Linked DNA regions of Homo sapiens: all the other regions are linked to region 1. Evidence: promoter capture Hi-C in human tissues and cell types (Jung and others, 2019). All regions are on one chromosome and are shown on one strand. Each heading gives the region's core, a stretch centred on a gene start or on the middle of the fragment in contact. The rest is flanking DNA. Distances are from core to core; before and after follow the strand shown. Region 1 holds the start of MRPS31 (mitochondrial ribosomal protein S31). Region 2 overlaps LOC124903162. Region 3 has its middle 170 kb from the start of LINC00332. Region 4 has its middle 220 kb from the start of MIR4305. Region 5 has its middle 140 kb from the start of LINC00332. Region 6 overlaps LOC124903162. Region 7 has its middle 220 kb from the start of LINC00332.

What was found. The method cuts DNA at HindIII sites, captures the fragments that hold promoters and counts their contacts. A contact is called where the count stands out against the background at its distance.
Region 2: a contact is called between a fragment that was not itself captured here and the fragment with the promoter of MRPS31 in region 1, in 2 of the 25 tissues and cell types used here (H1 embryonic stem cells and spleen).
Region 3: a contact is called between a fragment that was not itself captured here and the fragment with the promoter of MRPS31 in region 1, in 2 of the 25 tissues and cell types used here (H1 embryonic stem cells and spleen).
Region 4: a fragment that was not itself captured here is called in contact with the fragment with the promoter of MRPS31 in region 1 in 1 of the 25 tissues and cell types used here (mesenchymal stem cells).
Region 5: a contact is called between a fragment that was not itself captured here and the fragment with the promoter of MRPS31 in region 1, in 4 of the 25 tissues and cell types used here (dorsolateral prefrontal cortex, hippocampus, lymphoblastoid cells and 1 more).
Region 6: a fragment that was not itself captured here is called in contact with the fragment with the promoter of MRPS31 in region 1 in 2 of the 25 tissues and cell types used here (dorsolateral prefrontal cortex and liver).
Region 7: a contact is called between a fragment that was not itself captured here and the fragment with the promoter of MRPS31 in region 1, in 1 of the 25 tissues and cell types used here (heart left ventricle).

The regions. Positions count from the first base shown.
Region 1 is chr13:40,769,618-40,772,840 of GRCh38, forward strand. It overlaps MRPS31 (mitochondrial ribosomal protein S31), which reads right to left and starts at 1,573. Exons shown (of 7, transcript NM_005830.4): 1 at 1,368-1,573. The coding sequence starts at 1,519. RefSeq lists an enhancer at 1,462-1,631. The HindIII fragment of the contact is 6,562 bases long and covers 1-3,223 here.
Region 2 is chr13:40,086,944-40,089,937 of GRCh38, forward strand. All of the region lies in intron 4 of LOC124903162, which reads right to left. Among named protein-coding and RNA genes, the nearest start is that of LINC00332, 93 kb to the right of the region's middle. The HindIII fragment of the contact is 4,453 bases long and covers 1-2,994 here.
Region 3 is chr13:40,014,651-40,017,599 of GRCh38, forward strand. No RefSeq gene overlaps it. Among named protein-coding and RNA genes, the nearest start is that of LINC00332, 170 kb to the right of the region's middle. The HindIII fragment of the contact is 6,324 bases long and covers 1-2,949 here.
Region 4 is chr13:39,879,090-39,882,311 of GRCh38, forward strand. No RefSeq gene overlaps it. Among named protein-coding and RNA genes, the nearest start is that of MIR4305, 220 kb to the left of the region's middle. The HindIII fragment of the contact is 4,152 bases long and covers 1-3,222 here.
Region 5 is chr13:40,041,607-40,044,961 of GRCh38, forward strand. No RefSeq gene overlaps it. Among named protein-coding and RNA genes, the nearest start is that of LINC00332, 140 kb to the right of the region's middle. The HindIII fragment of the contact is 3,135 bases long and covers 361-3,355 here.
Region 6 is chr13:40,122,188-40,125,229 of GRCh38, forward strand. All of the region lies in intron 1 of LOC124903162, which reads right to left. Among named protein-coding and RNA genes, the nearest start is that of LINC00332, 58 kb to the right of the region's middle. The HindIII fragment of the contact is 3,529 bases long and covers 1-3,042 here.
Region 7 is chr13:39,961,826-39,964,915 of GRCh38, forward strand. No RefSeq gene overlaps it. Among named protein-coding and RNA genes, the nearest start is that of LINC00332, 220 kb to the right of the region's middle. The HindIII fragment of the contact is 4,852 bases long and covers 1-3,090 here.

The sequences.
Region 1 (3,223 bases), core at 323-2,822:
TCTCATTATAATATTCAATATATGGTACAATCTATTTAAGAAAATGGTCATTATTTTACATTTAAAGTTACTATTCAAGGTATTTTAATAGAAAAGTGGTAATCAGGGGAATGAATCTCACATGTAATCTTTACTACAATGTTTTCTTTCAAGACTGCTATCATACCACAGAAAACAATCTACATTATAGGAAAATCACGTCTAAGTAACTCCCTAGCACTAAAAATAATAAACCTCTCGACCTAACCTCCCACCTGAGTTTGTTTCCACTGACAGCAGCTCATCAGTACTTCAAATGCAACACCTTCAACACCACATTCAAGACTCCTCTTTCAGACTGACTTTCCATTTTTCACACTTTCTATATTAAAAGGCCCCCTAACATAAACAGGTATTTGTTGTTTTCTAAAAATTATAATATATGGAAAAATCTTTCTCAAGCCTGGCTCCGCATTCTTCTGTTAACATTAAGGATACCCTAATACTCCAACGCAGCCAGTTGAAATTTTTGCTATCTCTGACTACCCTACCATTATCCCATGACGTCACATCCCTTTAATTCTACCTGTGCAATTTTTCTCCTCCATTCAGCTGGTCCTTCCCATCTTCACTGCTACTAACCTGCTTCAGCACTGTACTTAACCAAACTGCCTTCTGAGTGTTACGCATGGAATTTATGCAGCGGAATTAGGTTTTCATAATAAAGTTCTCGGAGGATAAATACCAAAACCAAGTATGCCACAATTCCCTTTTTTCCTGGCTAACTTCAACCAGTGGTCCTCCTTCAGATTTCGTCAGACTTTTCCAGAAACGATATCCTGAGTCTCCCCTATAATGGTTAGGTGTCCCTATTTGCTATCCCAGCAAGTACTCATTCATGTTGGCTGAATAGTGTACTCTGTTTACCTACACTATCTCAGCTATTACTTCACTACATAGCACTTGAATTGTCTACTTTCTGGAACTACACGCTCCGTGATGGCAGGACTGTCTCACTTGGGGTTTACAACCAGTACTGGCACGCTGTTTTTCGAGTTTTTCAGTAATGAACTAAAGAATAAATGAAGGAAAACAAATGAGACTATCAAATAAATCTTGGGAGGCAAAAGATAAAAACCTGGGTAAACTGACAGGAGATGATGACAAGAGGAATGAGGCGCGGCGTGTAGTAGAGCACAGCGACCAGGTTTGTAATCGTAGCTCTGTTTTCACGCACACTATGACCTTGGGCAAGTCATCTTTTCTTTCTGGGATTTCTCTTTCCTCAGATTTAAAGCAATAGCTTCTAAGACCCAGCAGGTGGTAACATCGACCCCAGGAAGTCGGAGGATGTACAGGACGGGGCACGGGGTTGCCTGAGGACCTACCGGGCCAACAGCGCTGAACTGCGGTACCTGACTGTTCCGTGCCGAACAGTGAGTAGCATAATCGCAGCCGCTGATGTCTCCGGGCTTCCAGAGGACAAAGGGTGGCGGGAAAGGGGGCGAAGAGGTAGGAACGTCGAGACTCTAGGAAACATCGCCGAGACACGAAATGAACCAAGAACACAACTGAAATGGTGCGTCCCGCTGCCAAACACGTCCCCGCCCTCTCTTCCGCTTCCGGCCTGGCGCCTTCCTCCCCCTTTGCGCTCCGGTGGGCTACAGGGGCGGGTAACTGTGTTCCGGACTCGCCCGCGGCCGGGCGGAGCCAGTTGCCTCCAAGCGACCCGACCCACCCCGCGATTGTAGTCCTAGAGGCGGAGTCCTCGCCAGAGTTCAGCAAAGGTTCGCTGGCCGAGGCGGGTCCCAGACCGGCGAACCCGACAGTGGAGGGCGTGACCAGTTGTGCAAAAACTACAGATGGTGCCAGTGAGATCAGTCTCTTCTTTAACAGACAATATTTTGCGATGTTTGGAGGGGAAGGGTCTACAGCGTTCACCACGTTCTCAAAATGCGCCATGGCCACCAAAGAGGTTTAAAAAAAATTACTAAAAGACCTGCTGCCCTATGAATTAGCGTTTCCTTTCAGTCTTTATTTTTGATGTAGAGTCAAAATGAGACATAGGTTTCATTTTTCAAAAATAGCTTTATGGCCGGGCACGGTGGCTCACGCCTGTAATCCCAGCACTTTGGGAGGCCGAGGCGGGTGGGTCACTTGAGGTCACGGGTGCGAGACCAGCCTGGCCAACATGGTGAAACCCCATCTCTACTAAAAAAAAAAAAAAAAAAAAAAAATACAAACACACACACACACACACACACACAATTAGCCGGCCGTGGTGGCGGGCGCCTGTAATCCCAGCTACTGGGGAGGCTGAGGCAGGAGAAGCGCTTGAACTCGGGAGGTGGGGGCTGCAGTGAGCCGAGATCGCGCCATTGCACTCCAGCTTGGGCTACAGGGCGAGATTCTTTGTCTCAAAAAAACAAAAAAGAAAAGAAAAAAAGATTTACGCCGGGGGCACAGTGGCTCATACCTGTAATCCCAGTACTTACGGAAGCCGAGGCGGGCAGATCACTTGAGGCCAGGGGTGAAGACCAGCCTGGTCAACATAGTGAAACCCTGACTCTACTAAAAATGCAAAAATTAACCTGGCGTGGTGGCGAGTGCCTATAATCCCAGCTACTCGGGAGGCTGAGGCAGGAGAATAGCTTGAACCCGGGAGGCGGAAGCTGCAGTGAGCCAAGATTGTGCCACTGCACTCCAGCCTGGGCAACAGAGTGAGACCCCGTCTCAAAAAAAAAAAAGGATGAAAAGATGCAAGAGAGAGACTTGGCTTTTACCTGTCCCTCATGAAACAGGGAACTGTGACCCCAGAAGAGATGTGGGGTTCCCAAACTTGGAAGGGGATGAGAATAAATCTGGTGGGAAATGTTGGCTAATAGGACACATGGGAACCACTAGCCTAAAATTCCATAAAGGCATTCCAAAGTTTACATCAACATTTTCCCTGTCCTCTCAAAAAATAATCAAGGTGGGGAGGTGAGTTTTTGTGATACTAAAACACAGCTTACATTGAGCAGATCTTCCTGAGATCCACTAACACTAACAGAACCTTTGTGACTGAATGCTCTACACAGTACACTTGGGGATGCTTACTTTGTCTGATTTGTAAAAAAACAAACAAAAATTAAAGCATAACTTTGTCAAAAAACAAAATTATGGCAAATTTAGCATAATTGGTTTTTATTTGTGATTCTAGAATAGTGTTCCAGTGAGTTGAGCAGAGGGGTTTGGCTTTACA
Region 2 (2,994 bases), core at 59-2,558, 680 kb before region 1:
AAATTGTCACCCCTGAGAATAAAAGCATCAGTAGATTCTGAAGAATGTGGTTAGATGTCACCTTCTCTCCTCCTCTCCTCCTTTCCGCACTGTCACCCTCACCACACCTATCTTTTCCTCCCCCTGGAAAAAAAAAAAAAAGCAGAAATTGGATCCTAGAAAAGTGCAGGCGCCTCTCCAATGCTGGCCCTGTCAGGGAAGTGACACCTCTCCGTTAGGCCTGTTGGTCTCTGCCCTCCTGGACAAGCCCACTTCAAAGTTGCCCAGCAGCCTAGCTTCCTGGCCTTTAGAAATGGTGATGGATTCATTTAGAATCAGGGGCTACCGAGCTGGGAGCTGAGGTGCTGCCGAAATGGCAGGTGGTTGGCGGTGGCTTGACAGCAATTAAATGTACAAATCTTTGATTAGGCTCCCGGGAATGGAGTCATTAGCAACCCTGAACAGACCAGCTTGCTTTCCACCGCCTCATTAACTGCTCCGCTAATGTTACTTTAAAAAGCCGAGGGGATGAGGGGAAAAAGAACACCTATCCAACACAGAATGAGTGACAAAGCAGAAAGGGAGGGGAAGAGGCCGGGGTAAGCATTTCTAACTGAACAAACAGGTCCCTGCTTTTTTCATGCTGTGGTCGCTGACATGAGTGTGCATGTGCACATTTGCTGGACTGTGAAATAGCCCCATACCTGTCTGATTCATCTGCCAAGAAGGGCTTTTTTTCTTCTTTTTTCTAATCTGCCTTTTCAAAATCCCGGTTGATTCACTCTTCCAGCCAAAGCCTCCGTTTTGGCTCAAAGTCCACATCTATCAGATCTAGAGTGGGGCTACTGCACAGCTGTCTACACCTTTCCAAAGAGTGGTCTGTCTGGAGTCTGCATTCCACCCTTTGGGAGCCACAGAAGCTGTGTTAATACTCCACCTCTGTTGCGTGATCCTGGCTCCCACTGTGATGTTCATCTATCTCCCAGGGATGGCATCCCCAATTGATGTCTACCTGGCAGGTTTCCTCCGTATTATTAGAGAGCTAAGGTCTGGCTAAGCACAGCCATGCATGTTGAAACATCTTCCCAACAGGGAGCTTTAAAACAAGAGGGAAATGTGTCTCACAACCTTAATGTAAAATCCTGTGTGATCATTTATTTGATTAAACTGAATTCATTGCACAATTTATTATTTTTATTTTTCTCAACCTGCCAGTCACTGGATTAATATTTATAAAGTATGCGCCACACATACTTATTGATCATCTGTTATAAACGTCATTAATTTGTTGTGGAAAATCTACAGGTGAAGGACGGTCTCTATCTTTGAGTTTAGAATCTATTAGAAAGAAGCATCCTATGCATCTTCCCTCGTTTTTTTATTTATTTATTCAACAAACATTTGTCATGCGCCTGCTTAGTTTAAGCATTGTTCTTGTCAATAAAAATATGAAGGACAACATAGTATAATAATTATAATTGCATACTATCTGATAAGCATTTTATATGCATTAATTAATTTAATTATCGCAGCAACTCTGAAAGGTAGTATTTTTATCTCCGTTTTAAAGATAAGGGAACTGAAGCACGGAGAGGTTAAGTAACTTGCCCACGGTCACACTATTGGTAAATAGCAGAGCTGAGATTTAAGCCTAGGCAGTCTGGCCGCTTAACAACTATGCTGTGCTCCTTTGAGGTGCTTTTAGCTTAACGGGGAAGACAAACATTAAAACCAACCATTTCAATACAACGTGATTAGCACATCTGGGTAAAGTATATAAAAAATACATGATAGGGAGAAAAGGGAATTATTAACTGTCCATGGAAAACAATTCATAGTTGAAATGATACTTGATCTGGGGTTTGAATCAAGAAGAAAACAAAGCCATAGCCTTCAAGAAATTTTAATCTAATAAACTAGTTCACTAAATGTCCTTGCCACTGTTACGACATAAGTTTCGAAACAAATATATCAAATAAATGGAAAATTCTGAAAAGGAAAATATCACATCCAAGTTTGAGGGTATTGGCAGGAAAGACTTTAACCAAGGAGGTGATATCTAAGGAAGCCTGTAGGGGCTGGTCGAAGTCAAGGATGGAGCCTTGGTAAAAGCAGAGAAGATGGGAGAAGAGAAAAAAAAAAGGATTGGAGGAGGGAGAACAGAGAGAACAAAGATAAAGGTGTTTTCAAGAAGGTGAGCATAAGGACATATGTTGGAAGAATGGTCTGAGCTGAAATATGAAGGACATTGAATGAGAGATTTTATCTAATTCTAGAAATGTATTGACGGTTTTAGGAGTAGGAGAGTGAAATAAAAATGACTTAGGAATACCAAAGAAAGCAATAGAGAAATACAATCAAATAAATATAATGAAAAAGTACATTTTCAAGCCAAGAAATATAAGGGGCTATTGTTACTCAGAATAACAACCTACTACAAAGAGTTTTTACGAAGCTCAAATACGGTAACAGGAGGCATTTCTTTGCAAACCATAATGTGCCGCACAAATGCCATTATTACTTTCAACAATATGTTTATGTGACCTTTATAATTCATTTGTCTTTTGTACAAAGTTAGGAGGCTCCATAAGTTATCTGCATGTCTCCAAGGGCCATTAAAATGGGACAGGCCATCTCAAAGAAGCTTTTTATTTTGCAGTTGACAATAACGAGAGGCCTTTCTAAACTATGTACCAGAGGAATCAGAATGTGCATTCTCAGAGCTCCTTGGCCTCCTGAGGAGGAGGCACTTCTAGAGGGGTGGGGGTTCTTCCTCTATGGCCACTACTGAGGGGGTGGGTCCCTAACAAGGGAGAGGAAGTAATTATTGCTCTTGTGCCACCACCAGCAACAACAACCAAAAAAGATGGTTCTGCTGATTAAACTAAGGTAGCAGGACAAACTTATTTACTAAATTTTTAACATTTTCATCCAGCCAATTGATTTCTATTAAGTCACTGCCTGTTTCTTTTAAAAATAAACTCTTGGTCTTTTGTTCCACTCTTATTTTGTTCC
Region 3 (2,949 bases), core at 411-2,910, 750 kb before region 1:
GATCTTGGCTCACTGCAAGCTCCGCCTCCCGGGTTCACGCCATTCTCCTGCCTCAGCCTCCTGAGTAGCTGGGACTATAGGCGCCCGCCACCACGCCCGGCTAATTTTTTGTATTTTTAGTAGAGACGGGGTTTCCCCGTGTTAGCCAGGATGGTCGCGATCTCCTGACCTCCTGATCCGCCCGCCTCGGCCTCCCAAAGTGCTGGGATTACAGGCTTGAGCCACCGCTCCCGGCCACTTTCAACTTTTTAATAAGAAACAGTAGCAATTATAGGCACAATGTTACTGATGAAGGATCATTATCAGCTGGTGCCAGGAAAGACAATAAAACACAAGGACCATAAAATCTGACATTTGGCTATCTTGTCGCCTCAATGGGGGAAAGATTTGCCAGGTTTATTCTAATGTGATATTTTTCATACAGGTACCTCAAAATTAAAACCGGGACCACCAACATCATAAAATATCATATTTTCAAAATAAGACGAAGCCCACATTTGAAAAAATTTCTAGAGCAGTAGTTTTCAAAGTGGATGCCCCACGTGGAAAACAACATAGTAGATCTTCTATATTCATCTAAAAAATAAGAAAGATAATAAACTTTACTATCATTTATGAGTCCTCATGTCTGATGTTACATGAAAGAAGAGCTCCACCACTGAGAGTCACAGGTGCCCTTCCGCCTCCGTTGCTTCCAGAATATTATAGTACATGGCATTTACATGTGCCCTTGTTGAAAGAGTTTGAGTTTGAGGATTATATGATCTAGTTTTAGTTAAACCAACCATCACAAAAACTGACTTAAAAGTAATCCCGCAAAGAACCCATGATGAAACCCACAATGCATCGTGGCAAGTGAGATAAGCACAAGGAAAGAAGGTGGTAGGTTGGCCTTCCTTCTCTCCCTAGTAAAGGCTCTGTGTCAGCCACAATATGGGCTCAAGACATTGATGGTCTCATCACACCTGAGAAGAATTTGGCAGAAGACATTTGGCATTATTAAGAAGACTTTGAAATTGGGATTTACTTTCATTATCATTAAAGATGAACCTTGGCTAAAGCTTATGTTAAGCCTTCAGATGTTAGTTAATCAGAATATACAGCCATTGTGATTAGCAAGATATTTAAAATTCCTGTTTGTCTTTGATTCATCATTGAAACTGTTCTATATTATATGTTTTAATGTACATACTATTCCATACCTTATGTAATTTATGATTAAATCAATAGGTGTATATTTATTTATTGGAGTCACTCAAACATTTTACTGCATGGCTGTACAATCTAGTGTAACACAACATTAAGTTATGTCTGGGTTTACTCTCCACTATGAAGTAGTCTGCCTCTGAACTACAAAGTGATGAGAAATGAGCTTAGCGGAACATTTTAACCGTGGGGATCAAGTTCACTATGTTCCAATGCATGTGTGGTTTGGTCTCAAGGACCTGCTGCACCTTGCAGCTATGCTCCTGAAACTTGGCTCACTGTAATGTAAGGGAGCCATTCCAATGAATATAATGTTTTCTGATGCAATGGAAAACATATTTTTGAATTATACTTCCAGAAATTCACATATTCTGTTACTATCTAAATGTGTTGGACCCTTAATAAGAGGCTCTTTAATGTCCACAACTGTGTAGATTCATGTAAAGATGTGTTTCTGTTTTGAATCTTGAAATTATGCCACCCCCATGAGCTAGTTTATTGTTTTGCTGGAAGTTTTAATGGTAGGAGGAGGGAAAAAAAGAAAATAGAGAAAGAAAAAACAGAGAAGCTTCTAGACATCAGAAGTGAAACTGGGATTATTTTTAGGCAAAGAACAGCAGTTGATGCTATCATAATAAACCTCTGCTTTGTGTAGTGATTTTCTTCCAAAGAACTTAGAGCATTTCATACACAACTTAAGAACACTTGGTGAATCAGCACCAAAACGGATAACACAAGCTACCTGCAGATTGTTTTTTATTAATGACTGCCTTCAGGGACTTATACCTAAAGTGGGGATTTAATTGCTCATCTGAGAAATTAGAGGGAGAGATTGAATGTAAAGAAGGAAAAACAAAAGAAAAAGAAATAGGTGGAGCAGGAGAAAGATCAAAAGCAAATATCTCAGGGTTACTTTACCCTTAACTTTATTTCCTTCTGTCTCTTTCCACCTCTACAAGACTTAATTGGCTTCTATCAGGTGATACCCAGATCCCAATTTGGTGATTACCTTGTGCCTGTTCAGAGCGCTCCTAGTAGTTTCAAGTTTTCTCTTTCTTTAAGGTGCTGGTGCTGCCACTTGGTGGAATGTGTTTATTCAGGGAACAAAGTATTTGCTAAGAAATATGCTTTATGTACTCACATTATAAACACTTTCAGTGTATATACTTGAGCCCTTCTAAAAATAATTCTGCAAATGTCCTTATATAAGGTTTATATGAGACTATCTAGTGCTTAGGTACCTATTGATTTGTTTTTATATAACAGGCTCTTGTACGATAAAGCTCCATGACTCACCACTTTTAGAAATAATCTCTTGCTGTATCTAATTGTTAATGTTGACATGCTGCTCTGTGGATCTAGTCTATTTTTTTTCATGCATTATGTGTTTGGTCTCCAATTAATGTGTTCTGTCTCAAGGTCAGAAGCTGTACTTGTTCCTTCCTTTGGTGGCGTTTACTCTGTGGAAGCTCTTTTTCATTGTTGTGATTGTATGGCGAGAATCCCTATTACCCTTCAGAAGGTATGCCGAGCCTCTTGTACATGGTGCATTTCGATGGCAGAGTCGAGCTTAACTTCATGATTCATTATTTCACTCGGTTAATATTTTTGATCTCCTACTACATGCCAGGAGCTGTTTTAAACTCAACAGTAAACAGAAAAAAATTCCTGACCTAATGTGGCTTGCATTTTCATGTGGGAAGGATAGATAATAAGCAAAATAAGTCAGTTAAATATTCAGTA
Region 4 (3,222 bases), core at 541-3,040, 890 kb before region 1:
CCTAGTTCTCAAGTGGGTTTGCTTCAACACCAAGCTATGTCACCTGCCAAACTAAAGCAATCTCTGACTCTCTCATTTCTCCCCCTAATGCACAAAGCACAAGCACAAACTGCCGGGGTGTTCTAGAACCCTGGACTAAAAACCCAAGACTTTATATACGCAACTCAAGTTCCTCGATTTTCTTTCTTTCCAAAGATTCTGAAATACCTTCTGGCCCACTGCTTCGTACAAAAGAGCAGTTTCCCTGACCAAGGAAATTGTGGTTGTGGGATTCTTGAGCCATCTTCTTAGAGAAGTTCCCTCTGCTTTTTTGTATTTGTGCAGGACATTTGTGCAGGGAGCTCTTGGAAGGACATTCAGATTTTGTTCAGCTGTGTCTGTCGACACATTTCTGGACTCTCTGCAAATAAGAGTAGATATGAGACTCAAGTCCTGGAACCCTTCTGTAGCTAAACCCAGAGTCTCAAATTGTGAAAGCTGCTTTCAGGGTCACATTCTATGGCACCTAGAAACACTGCACTGAAAGAGAGGTATGTTTCCTCAAATTTTAGCAATTGTAATTTCTTAGTGGAAGTAATTGGATTCCACAGTTTGCTTCCTATTTTGGAAGTTACAGAGAAATCAAAGTCTCTCATAAGAAAAGTATTTTTCCGTCTTAGCCCACTGTTTCCACTTTCAAAATATGTTAAAACAACAACAATAATAAAGCTATTTCAATTGTGCCAAATTCCCCCAGACTCCACTATTGTGACTGTGTTTCTAGTTGATATTCTATAATCTTATCACTTTCAGCCACACATCCACATACCACCCTGGGTTATTTATAAAGATAAATCCTGTGCTGAGATCAAAATCTACAATCTATTTTTTCTAGGTCTAAATTTGTTTTTGCGGCTTTAGAAATGATTTTGAAAATATTTTCCAGGGAGTTTATTTGTGTAAAAAAGATTTTGGTAAATAAATTACTCAGAACAAAACTAGCTTTTAGGTTGTCAGCTACCAACTACTATGTATTTGGAATATCTTGAGTTATCCAGGAACTGATAGTTAAGTGTTTGAATGATTTGTACTCTTAAGTTTTAATGTTTTCAAAGTGTGTCCGTCTAAAAATATAACTCCAAAATTCTGGCTCTTTGTGAGCATTGGCTTACTAGTGAATTAAACTTTGCATTATCCATACTTTCTGAACTTCAGTTTCCCCATCTTTAAAGTGGAATAAGTAATAAAATCTACTTCGTAAAATTATCATGAGAACTAAATGACATAAGACATGAAAAATAATGATTGCTCATCACACAACAAATGCTCCATAAACAGTGCGTGAAAATATTATCTAAAGAGTTCAGTTTAAAATTAATAATTGAGTTACGACATTTACAACAATTTGTGTACATCTTCTATCCCCAGGAGCCTGCATGCTGTGGGAGGATGGGCAGTGGCCTCCCTTGACCTTCAACCTTCTCCAGTCTTCAGCCTCTTCTGACACAGCAGTCTCTCAGTAAATATTGCTGGACAGAAATTCATCTGACTATCAACTTGCCATGCTCCCTATTGGCATTAATAAGTAGGAGTTGTCTATATTTGGAATTCAATTTCTTTTCTCGAAACACACTTAAAAATTTTAGCGCTATTTTAAAAAATAGTGGTTTTGTTTTACTCTTCTGTTAAAGCAACTAAATTTGAAATTCTAATGCAAATTCAGTAAATTAGTGTTAATAAGCTTACACCAAAAAAGAGTCAGCAGATAAATGATGTAATTGGTTTTTCCAAGGAGAGGTAAAATTGGGAGAATGACAATAATTTGTGATTTGCTTTGGGCCTTGTCTCAGACACAATAAGCTACAGTCCAGATAGTTGAGCTACAGTGAAAACAACAGTCAATCTCACATGTGAAAGTTATGTCCCCTCACTTGTGAGAAAACCAATGTCATCAGGCCCTTTGCTTGAAAAGACCAGTTGAAGGCACATCAAGCTGAATTCGTAGCTTTTACTCTGTAAGGAAAATATTTCTGAACTTTCATCTAATAGAACTTTTCTACTCTTTAAATTGTACAAATAAATGTATGAACAAATGTTCTAAGCTAATTTACAAATATTATCTGGTGTTATTGCAATACATCAAACATATTTGACTCAAACTATGGTTAGCTCCAGATTTAAATGTTGCATGTTCATGGGTGTAACACAGAGAACTTTAATTCATAGGACTGTATAAATGTTGGTCTAACATATATTTAGAATACCCAATATGTGCTATGACTAGTGCAAAGTGTTAAAGATATGGCACAAAAGAATAGGAGAGAAGTGCTAAGATGCTTGCCTAGATGATTTGGGACCACATTGTATAATGCTATGCTTTTGAATTTGAAGCACATCATATTTTGAAGAGCAAGGTGGTAAAAGACATTTATATTGAGTGGAGAACACTATAAATAGTGGCTATCTGGAGAGCTGGAAGGTGAAGGTGTCCAAGACTGAAAGCAGCTTTAGAGGGTGAGCATGCCATGGAGGTGAGAGCAGGAGTGACAGCTCACATGTTGAGTATTTGTCATCCTGGTCTTGTCAAAGTCAGCCACTGGTGCTTTCTGGCAAAGGAGTGGCTTCGTTTGTGCTTAAAAAAGGATGTCAATAGTGAGAAGGATGAATTCAAGAGAGAACAATTAGTGTTTGATCTTACCTTATGGACAGCTCGTCTGGACACAGGACGCACTAGCTTTCTCAATTTGGGGGAAGGCAGGACAGGCCACTGCTGGGACAGGCCACTGTGATGAGAAATTGCTGCTCTGCACTGCCCGCACATGAAGGGAGAACAATCTTGCCCTGTAGTATTTAAGCCATAAATTGGTTCATGTTTCAGATTACAGGGTATGACCAAGGCTATGTGTTCACTAACAGACATTTTCTGAGCCCCAAGCTGACTACCAACCCTGATGAATGCTATAAATTCATTCAGGGAAATGAATTCCTATCTCTTGACATAAAGTAGTCTCCAGAATCTGCTAGTATCCAAGCACATTTCTCCAGAATCAGATGCATTTCTCTGAAAGAGCAATAGCAGCCAATGGTGCAGTGTGTCCATCAGAGTTCCAGCAGGAAACAGATGGCATTCTCAAACTGTTACTCAGGGATAAATGTTAATAAAAGAGCGATTTAAAACAGGATGGGAAGATGTAAGGGCATGTAAGAGGGATGTTGAAAGACCCTGGGCTAAAATGGCAGAAA
Region 5 (3,355 bases), core at 678-3,177, 730 kb before region 1:
CTCACTGCATATAGGGGAAGTCCTATCAGGAGCATGACAGTGAATGAGGCAATGCATCAATAGGACATATGTTGAGAGAAACTTTCCACCCCGTCCCCCTTTACTGACTTCCCCCTCGTGCCTACAATTCTGTTTGTAACCTTCTCCAACTTGGTCACAACTATTATTCCCAGAGCCATGCCTCTTCCTAGCAACCGGAAGATGAGGTGTTCCTAGAATCTTGAAGATCTCTAATCATGAAGCTGTGCGGAGCAGTCTTTGAAGGAGGAGGCTGCCTCTCAAAGCTCCACAAGCAGCAGGAGTCTGACTCCAGCCTAGATGACCTTGGAAGCCAGAGCAGACTTCTTAAAAAACAAGGCTTCTTTGCTTCCCCACCTTTTACGTTTTCTCCGCTTGTAAGTTCTGTCTCTGCCCAAAGTTAATCATAGATGATCCAATGGATCTGTACAGATATTTACCTACAGCAGTACCCATTGTCATTTTATGTGTTTTGGAAAAAAAAGAACCTACATTTCTAACAATAAGGAGTTGGTTGGATAAATTATGGTATATCCATACAATGTTATACCACATGGTCGTTATAAATGATGGAGAAAAGAATATGTAATAACAGTACAATGATCTTGATTCCTAAATGCTAGAATTATGCATGATTTTTTCTTCTTTGTGCTTATGTACAATTCCTAAATTTTCTATAATGCAGATAAGAAAAGGGAAATGTTTTAAGAAAAAGGAAATGTTATTTTTTAAATCAGCAGTGGTTTTTTTTCCTCTATTTTGAGGCCCAAAGACCCTTGGATTCAATACCGTTTAAAGCAACTATAAATTTTTTAAATACTTAAAGCACATCTTCATATATAATTTACCTAAGAAATCAAGAGTACATTTCTGGACATTTCAAAGCTATAATTTCAACTGTGATCCTGGAAACATAATAAAGCCTCAAGAGTAAAATGCATGAGTAAAATTTGTGTCTCCATCAAAACCCCTTGACACGCACAAATTTTATTTATGTGAAGTTTGGGCAGAGACCATCCCTTTTATGATTACTGAATCCTATAATTTAACAAACTACCTCTTTTTCTCTTTCTGAAGCTTGGAACTTAATAGTTACAAATACAAGTGTGTAATACGGTAGAATTTTGTTAAATCTCTCATGCAATTATACCTTATTGCTTATCATAGTTTAACATTAGTTTCATATTAGCAATTTAAACAATTTTTTATTACTCTGATTTTGGAGATGTCAGAAAAAGCTTCATAAATATTCCTTTTTGTTAGGAAAGAGCATTCTTATAAAATGGAAACTCTGGGGTGGGCTAGCTGAATATGCCCTATAAAGAAAATATAGAAAATGTTAAAATAATGAGCAGATCTTACCTTCCGATTGCCTTAGTTAATCTTTGGAAACCAGGGAGACAGTTTTCAGGAGGTTGGGTTAACACTTAAAAGCCACCTGGGTACCATACAATCCAAGAAAGCAGCAATTCAGAAGAGCTAATGGTACTTTTGAAAAGTGCTTTACTTATTCCTTGGGGGAGTTGTTCAGACATAAGGAAAATCTGGCTCAGATATTCGTGGTTTTATAGCTGCTGTAACCAAGAAAGTCAGAGTGAAATATAGGCATTATATAAGAAGCCTCTTTATGTGCCAATGTGCTGTATTTAGTCCTAATTGCAGATAGGGAAACTGAGGTCCCTGAGAATCTATTTATACTTGCCCAAAGACATAACAAACCAGATAATAAAAACTAGACTTCACACAAATACGATACATATTTTTTAAAAAAACTTCAAAGTTTGTCTGATTTTGTTCACATGTTCTGAATATTTGTTAATTCATTAACTCCAGATATTTGGACAGCTTGGCTTGATTTGAATAACACTTTGAAATTTAATGCACAGCCCCCTTCTCAGTGTTATAAAATTTTGGCTCCAGAGATGACTGTAGTTCTTGAAAGTCCCCCATCACATATATCTTCTCACAAAAGTGTAAGAAACATATCTTTTTCTTTAACTCCTGGCTCAGATTCAGGTTGTAAAGATACGTGGTTTTCCAAACACCTGCGTGAATGTTAGCAAGATCCAAATCTGCTTGAGGGACCTGTATGTTTTTCTCTAACAACTCATGTTTTCTCCACCAAGCACTGATCCAAGATCTGCTTCAAATAGCGTATATTCTTTCCTAAAAGATCTTTTCTTCTCCTCTTCAGGAATGATTAGGAGAAGCACGTGCAGTAAGCCTGACTGCAAGGCTGTTAATGCTGAAAAGAAAGGTATTGGCTAGCCCAGATTACTGGAGAGGAGAGAAAAGGCTAAGTGATTTTGAAACCATTTTTAAGAGTGGAGTGGTGTAACTTAAGCCGCACTGGAATGCTGAGGGATAGGGTTCTTCAGACTTTCTCATGAAGGAGATAAAGCACCAAAAGAACTGGAGTTGGAGCTCCAAACATTTGGCAAAGACCCAAATCTTTTCAGTGGTAATGGTGTGATATTTAAATTGTTCAAGAATACTCTTGGGCATGCTTGATGATCCATGAACATGTAACATCAACTTGGATTTAACTCTTGTTAAACTGGGTCCTTCTAAAGATCATGAGAAACTAACTGTCCTTTTCTCAGGACTCGATGCTGTTAGTTGGCTAATCATCAGTAGGAACTGCACTCTAAATTTCTTCTCCAGTAGTAGTGACAAATTTGTCACAAATGGTTTTCTCTCTCTTGTTTCTCCCACTTATCACCAATGGCTTGTGTTTGCAAAAGACAGCTATGCACTTTGAAGTTAGACCTTACAAAATGTGTGACCTTCAACAAGGTGACTTAACTTCCCCAAGTTGCAGCTTCCTCCTCTGTAACCTAAGAGTAATCAGTGTGCACCTTAGAGATTTCTTCTCAATGTTATACAAGAAGATGCAGTGTAAAGGATTTAGCCCAGTTCTGGCATGCAGTAATTTAACACAAATAACAGTAACTAATATTTATTAAGTGCTTATTATTTGCCAGGCAAAGTTCTAAACACCTTATACATATTAACTCACTTAATAATATTATTAACCCCATTTTTCAGATGTGAAAGTGGAGCTACCTACTTATTGAAAGTTTAAAAAATGAATAAATAATGCTACTTTCTTACTTTCCCAAGCTGGAATAGAATTGAGAGATAGACATTGGAATAAGCCAGATGAATCTCAAAATATTGCTTTTATTATTGATGAAGGCAATCAAAGGAAATACCTCAGATCTTTACCCTTGCTAATATTTTGTCCAAAAAGACAACATGTCCTCCCACTTACAGATATCACTGAACAATTGCAGGTTTTCTCAGGAAGAGCAAGCAAATTATTACGTGCAGAGAG
Region 6 (3,042 bases), core at 97-2,596, 650 kb before region 1:
GAGGTTCTCCAAAGTGGGACCAGGAAAAATAATTCTCAAGTCATGCCTCCCAATCTAGAGCTCAGAGAAAAAGAGACACCAAATCACTGTATGCTTTGCTTAATAATGAAGAAGAGTTTAGCAACCCTATGTGCCTGACACTCTACCAGCAAGGGTCTCAAGGTGACTGGTGAACATGATGGTCCTGTGGAGCTAACAGAGGTGAGAGGGGACAGTGCTCAATGTGCTACTGAGACTTCCTGGAGTGGGGACCCAGGGCATTGCCCTGCTCAGATCCCAGGCTGACTCCTCACCCTCTGGTGTAAGGACCAGGTCATCCTTCTTGGGAAAACTCTGGTCATATTTTCCTTTTTAAATTTTTTCAAAAGAAGTCAGCAATCTGGGTTTTATGTAATATCCTTTTATTTTTAAATGTTGGAAACTAATTCCAATTGTGAAAACTCCTTTTGGGGAAACTGGCCCTCAATGAATGCCCTTTTATGACCTCTGCTGGAGTGGGTATCTAGGGAGGGGTGAAACAAAGTGGGACAAAGCAACACTCCCAAAATAATATCCTGTAACATAGGGAGTGGTACTGGGGGTTTTGAAGAAGGCTTTTCAGAGTCTCCCAGGGTGGCGCAAAGAGAGGAAGTGTAGGATTTTTGTTTGATGTTTCTTAAAGAAAGCCATGGTTCCCAAAGGCTGCCTTAGTGAGTGGCCACCCAAAAGAAGCCACACACATGGGACCATGTGCTGTGAACAGAGGAGTCAGGGAGCATGAGGCTGAAGTCCACAGGTGTGGGGTCACCACCACTACTCATGCAGGCATGTATGTGCCCACACTCTCTCTGCCTATAGACCATGTCATGGCTAGTGGGGCAGGAAATACTTTGACAGAGACGATCAGCAATATAGAATCTTGGACATTCGGTGCTCCCGACAACCTCAACAGTCTTTTCAACCTTGTCATTTTACACAAATAATCTGAGCCCAAAGAAGAAACAGACTTCTTGCTCCCAACTTTGCACAGCTGATTTACAGCTGAGCTGAGACCTTAGCTCAGGCCCCTGCCTCTCAGTGCAGACCTTGTCTTGAAACCCTTTCCTATCCCTCACCCCCATCCTCACTCCAGGAGAAGTTGTTGCAAAGGGGATTTGTGAAATGAAAAATCGAATACAGTGCATTTTGGTATCTTTGTAAGACTCTTCATATCAAAAATTTAACACGCCAAGAAAAATAATCCTTTCTCAAATCGCACATCCCAATTTAGGGCTCAGAAAAAATAGACACCAAATCATTGTATGCTTTAATTACGATGAAGAGTTTAGCAAGTCTATGTGCATGACATCCTACCAAGCATTTTACACGTGTTATTGCATATAATCTTCATGATTATCTCCATTTTACAGCGGGGGGAATTGAGACTTTAAGAGGCTATGAAATCTGCCCCAAGACTCAAAGTTAGGAAGTGATAGAGCCAGGATTTGAATCTGTATAGTGTCATTCAGAGCCCTAACGTAATAAATATGGTTCCTATAGCTGAGCCACCCCTAACTCCACTCCCAAGAGATAACAAAGGTCAAGTTCCCAGAAAGCTTTCTTCTGGAAAACCTACCACTGTCCTGGCATCTAGAGCATAGTCTCTTATGCAGAACACTAGCTTGAGCCCATTTCATGACACATATTTTTTTTCCAGGCTCCAAAAATGTGGTCTTCCTTTATTATGCCAATTAGGCAAGAACAGATGGTCTTCCTCTACTCAACAGTTAACCATTCAACATTTATGGAGAAAAATCCTAGAAGGGTTTATTTCAAATATGAAAAGTGCCAGCCCAAAGGAAAATTATTTGAATAATTCTCCGAGGTGGGAGGGGCAGTTCTAGAGGGAGACTTTCTGCAACTTTAACCAAAATGTCATGGAATGTGTACATTATAATGGCAGAATGTCTTGATCCCAGAAAAGTACACATAAACAGAGAGAGGTAATTGGAATCATCATTTTGACACCTGAAAGGATGACAAGAAACCTTTAACCTACAGATAATCAGTGGAGTGCACTGTCATTGTGAATGGCTCAGCCAGTCTGTGGGATATCACATTAGCAAGCTGGCTGGCTTATTAGAGACATCTAATTCTTTCATATACTTAGCACTGAAGTGGATAGGATTCAAAACAGCTTCCTTGTCTCTGACATGCATCCAAATTTTTAATAGCAGCTAAGTACCTTACTAAGCAATTGAATAAAATAATGCATTCAAGCCCCCAGAAAACCTTTTCAGACCTCTTTTTATCTCTACATTTTACTGATAGAGAATGGATTGTAATTCAAATTTATATACTGGGCACATGCCGAGCAATAGATTTTTTTTTCCTTTGTAAATCTCAAGCATTCCAAACTATTGAAGGAGTTAAGCAATTTTGATCATTTTGAAACTAGCTGTCAGATTTAATCTCTGCTAAGGAGACAGAGGGCAAATGTACTCTGAAGCTTGTTATATAATTTACAGATTATTTTTGCAATTTATATTCCATCAAATAGGGTATATGAGACTCTCAGAAAGTACGTAATGATCAATTAATTTCAGCAGAGCCATCCTGGTGTCACTTATGGGATAGACATGATTAGACCTTTTTCTAGCTGAGTCCCAAGGTCAAGTCATCAAATATGACTGATTACATTTTCTAATGGTTTCTCTATGCCCATTAAAGAGCACTCAACTATTCAGACTCTCCTTTGATCGTGACATTCAAAATTTGCTCTGATGGCTCCTGACAGGCAAAAATGTATTCTCTAATCTTTAACCACATAAACAATAGCTAACCACTTGTAATTGAGTTTAAATTGATTTCAGGTGGCTTCAGAGAAAAGCAATTTCTACAACAGATTAACCTCTTAATTAAAGTATATTAAGAATACTGTCAGGTGTAGAGATTCTGCTACAGAAGAAAATTATCCCTCATTGACATTCATTTATGAAAGAATTGCTGTTGTGCTCCCAGGTAACAGGTTACTTATTTGTGCTTCTTGCCTCACTAGGTCAATGCAAGTCTAGTTTCAGTCAT
Region 7 (3,090 bases), core at 54-2,553, 810 kb before region 1:
GTATTAGAAGGAGATGCAAAAGCTCTAAAATTTTCTTACTGATCACTTGCTCTTTCATTCTAGTATTATACTGAATGTAATCTCTATTTAATTTGTAGAAACTTTTTAAAACCACTTGTATATTTGGAGATTATTAGATTAGTTAGAATTAAATAATACAATCCATTTAACTATGGCATATATCAATTGCAACACATCACAATTCAGATAATTCAGGCAAGTAACTCACTCTTCCCATGATATTGATGACCTAGGACCATTGACTGTATGAAGCAAGTGTGGGAGGTGGTGCTAATTCTTATATCACATATTGGCGTATTTCATTTCATTGATATTTTTGCATATAAAAATGAAAGTTGTAATGTTTTCCCATACCTCAGTGGATTATCTTTTTTAAAAACGGACTATTTTTAGAGCAGTTTTAGGTTAACTGGATCATCTTTTGTATCTCTGCTTGCACCCTATTTTTTTTCCTTCAACTTTTATTTTAAGTTCTGGGATACATGTGCAGGATGTGCAGTTTTGTTACACAGGTAAACATGTGGCATGATGGTTTGCTGCACAGGTCAACCCATCACCTAGGCATTAAGCCCAGCATCCATTAGCTATTATTCCTGATGCTCTCCCTCTCCCCATGCCCCTGACAGGACTCAGTGTGTGTTGTTCCCAACCATGTGTTTATGTGTTCTCATTGTTCAGCTCCCACTTATAAGTGAGCACATGTGGTGTTTGGTTTTCTGTCCCTGCATTAGTTTGCTGAGGATAATGGTTTCCAGCTCCATTCATGTCCCTGCAAAGGACATGATCTCATTGCTTTTTATAGCTGCATAGTATTCCATGGTGTATATGTATCACATATTCTTTATCCAATCTATCATTGACGGGCATTTGGGCTGATTCCACGTCTTTGCTATTGTGAATAGCATGCACCCTATCTTGACAATCACTATCTGAAATGAGTGGTAAGGTGATGGCAAAGTGTATAATGACTTCTTACAGCTGTATAATTTGAATCTCCCTAGATCTCACAAGAAATACCATTAACAGTGACATTTTAAATTTCATTGTCTTTTTGGACTTAACTGCTTACTGCAAGACATTCAATTTCCCCTAAAGCCCGTTAAATGACTGATGGGTCTGGCCGGGGACATCTTACACATATTTATTAGTCATCTTTTCAAGCTCCCCTCCATGCCTTCCTTGTTGGTGTCTGCTGTCCAGGCCATCATGCAAAGAGGATGCTTTGCCACTGTCCCTAGAGCTTTGGTCTGTGGTGAAAATGTTGACCCTGCCCAGAGCCCTGCATTCTGCAGCTTCCCCAAGATGCTGAAACTTGAAGTGTGTTTTGGAGGAAAATGAGTAACTCGGGACAATAATTTGGTTGGCATGATGACATGATCCAAATGGAATATCCTCAGTTGACATCTATGTCTCTTCAGAATTTTTCTACTTTTATGATTTTTAATTTCACAATTACTTTCAGCCAAATGTTCCTGCCCTGCATTATTTGTAACACTGAGGAGTTGGAAGCAACTTTTAAATTGCTGGCACAGTTTCACTATTACAAACTCCACAGAGTACAATTATTTCATTGGCAGAAAATGCATTGGAAGAAAGAAAACTAGGGAAAAAAGAGAAATGTATTTATTCACCAATACATTTTTTAAAAGCAAAAATAATTAACATTTGCATAGTTGCAAAACTAACTGATGATGAACCCAAATTTTCCATGCAGGAAAAAAAATTGTATTTGAGACATATTTATTTTTTAAAAAAAGAAACAATCTTTCAAACCAAATATTCATCCAAAGCTAAGTTGTCGATTTTCATCACTGCCATTTTGTTTGGAATTTAATTGCTTATAATCAAATTGTTTTCAGCCATGTCACCTGGAGGAAACATCTTTTTCCCTGGTTCTGAGTCATTTTCTGTCACTGCAGTTCTGAGGTGCACTCATTGAGTCCCAGTCATTTACAGAGAGGCCCAGGGAAACAGGTGCTTGCTTCAGCCTGCAGCTGTGCCTACCAAGAGGCATGGACCAATCACTGCAGCTCTCTGAATGCTCCCACTTCTTTCTTCAGAAAGCTATTTTCACCTGTACTCCCTTGTCCCACATGTGGACAACTCAAGGGACCTGGCAATCTGATCAAATTCAATACTGGTTCAATATTGGAAACTTCTTTATTGAACAACATTTTATAACTTTAACAATATATTCACATTTATTATCAATCATTTAATTCTGCCAACACACCTGTGAGGTAGTCAGAGCAGAATTAGTCTGAACATTTTTCAGATGAGAAAAGTGAGTTGTAGAGCTGGAAGGAAAGTTGAATTTTATTTATTTATTTATTTATTTATTTATTTATTTATTTTTATTTTTATTTTTGAGAAAGAGTCTCACTCTGTCACCCAAGCTGGAGTACAGCGGCTTGATCTTGGCTCACTGCAACCTCCACCTCCCAGGTTCAAGCAATTCTCCTGCCTCAGCCTCCTGAGTAGCTGGGATTACAGGCATATGCCACCACCCTCAGCTAATTTTTGTATTTTTTCGTAGATACAGGGTTTTGCCATGCTGGTCAGGCACCTGACCTCAGGTGATCCACCCCCTTTGGCCTCCCAAAGTGCTGGGATTACAGGCTTGAGCCACTGTGCCTGGCCAGAAGCTTTAATATAATTTAAAAGTCCAATTCCCTGATTTTCCATGGTGCATAGGGTAGTCCAGACAATTTAATACTTGTTTTAAACAGAAATATTCTATCCCATCCCTCCTACCCAACAAACTCTTCTAAGGAAGTACCATATGTACCCAGATATAAGAAGACATTTTATTAATATGAATTTGCTGGTATAAATTGAAATTTATTATGAGTTCAATCAATGAAAATAATGAGACTAGCTTTCCAAACATGAGAGCGAATTAGAAATTTGGGGTTAGGAATGACAATAGTTCTCTTATCCTCAGTATTGAGTCATTTCTCCACTTGTTTCAGTTTTACAATATTTGGAATACACTGGTCCAGTAGATAGGATAGGGAGACTTCCAAGATGGTCTCTGCCTCAGTCCGCTTTGCATTTCTATAGCAGAAT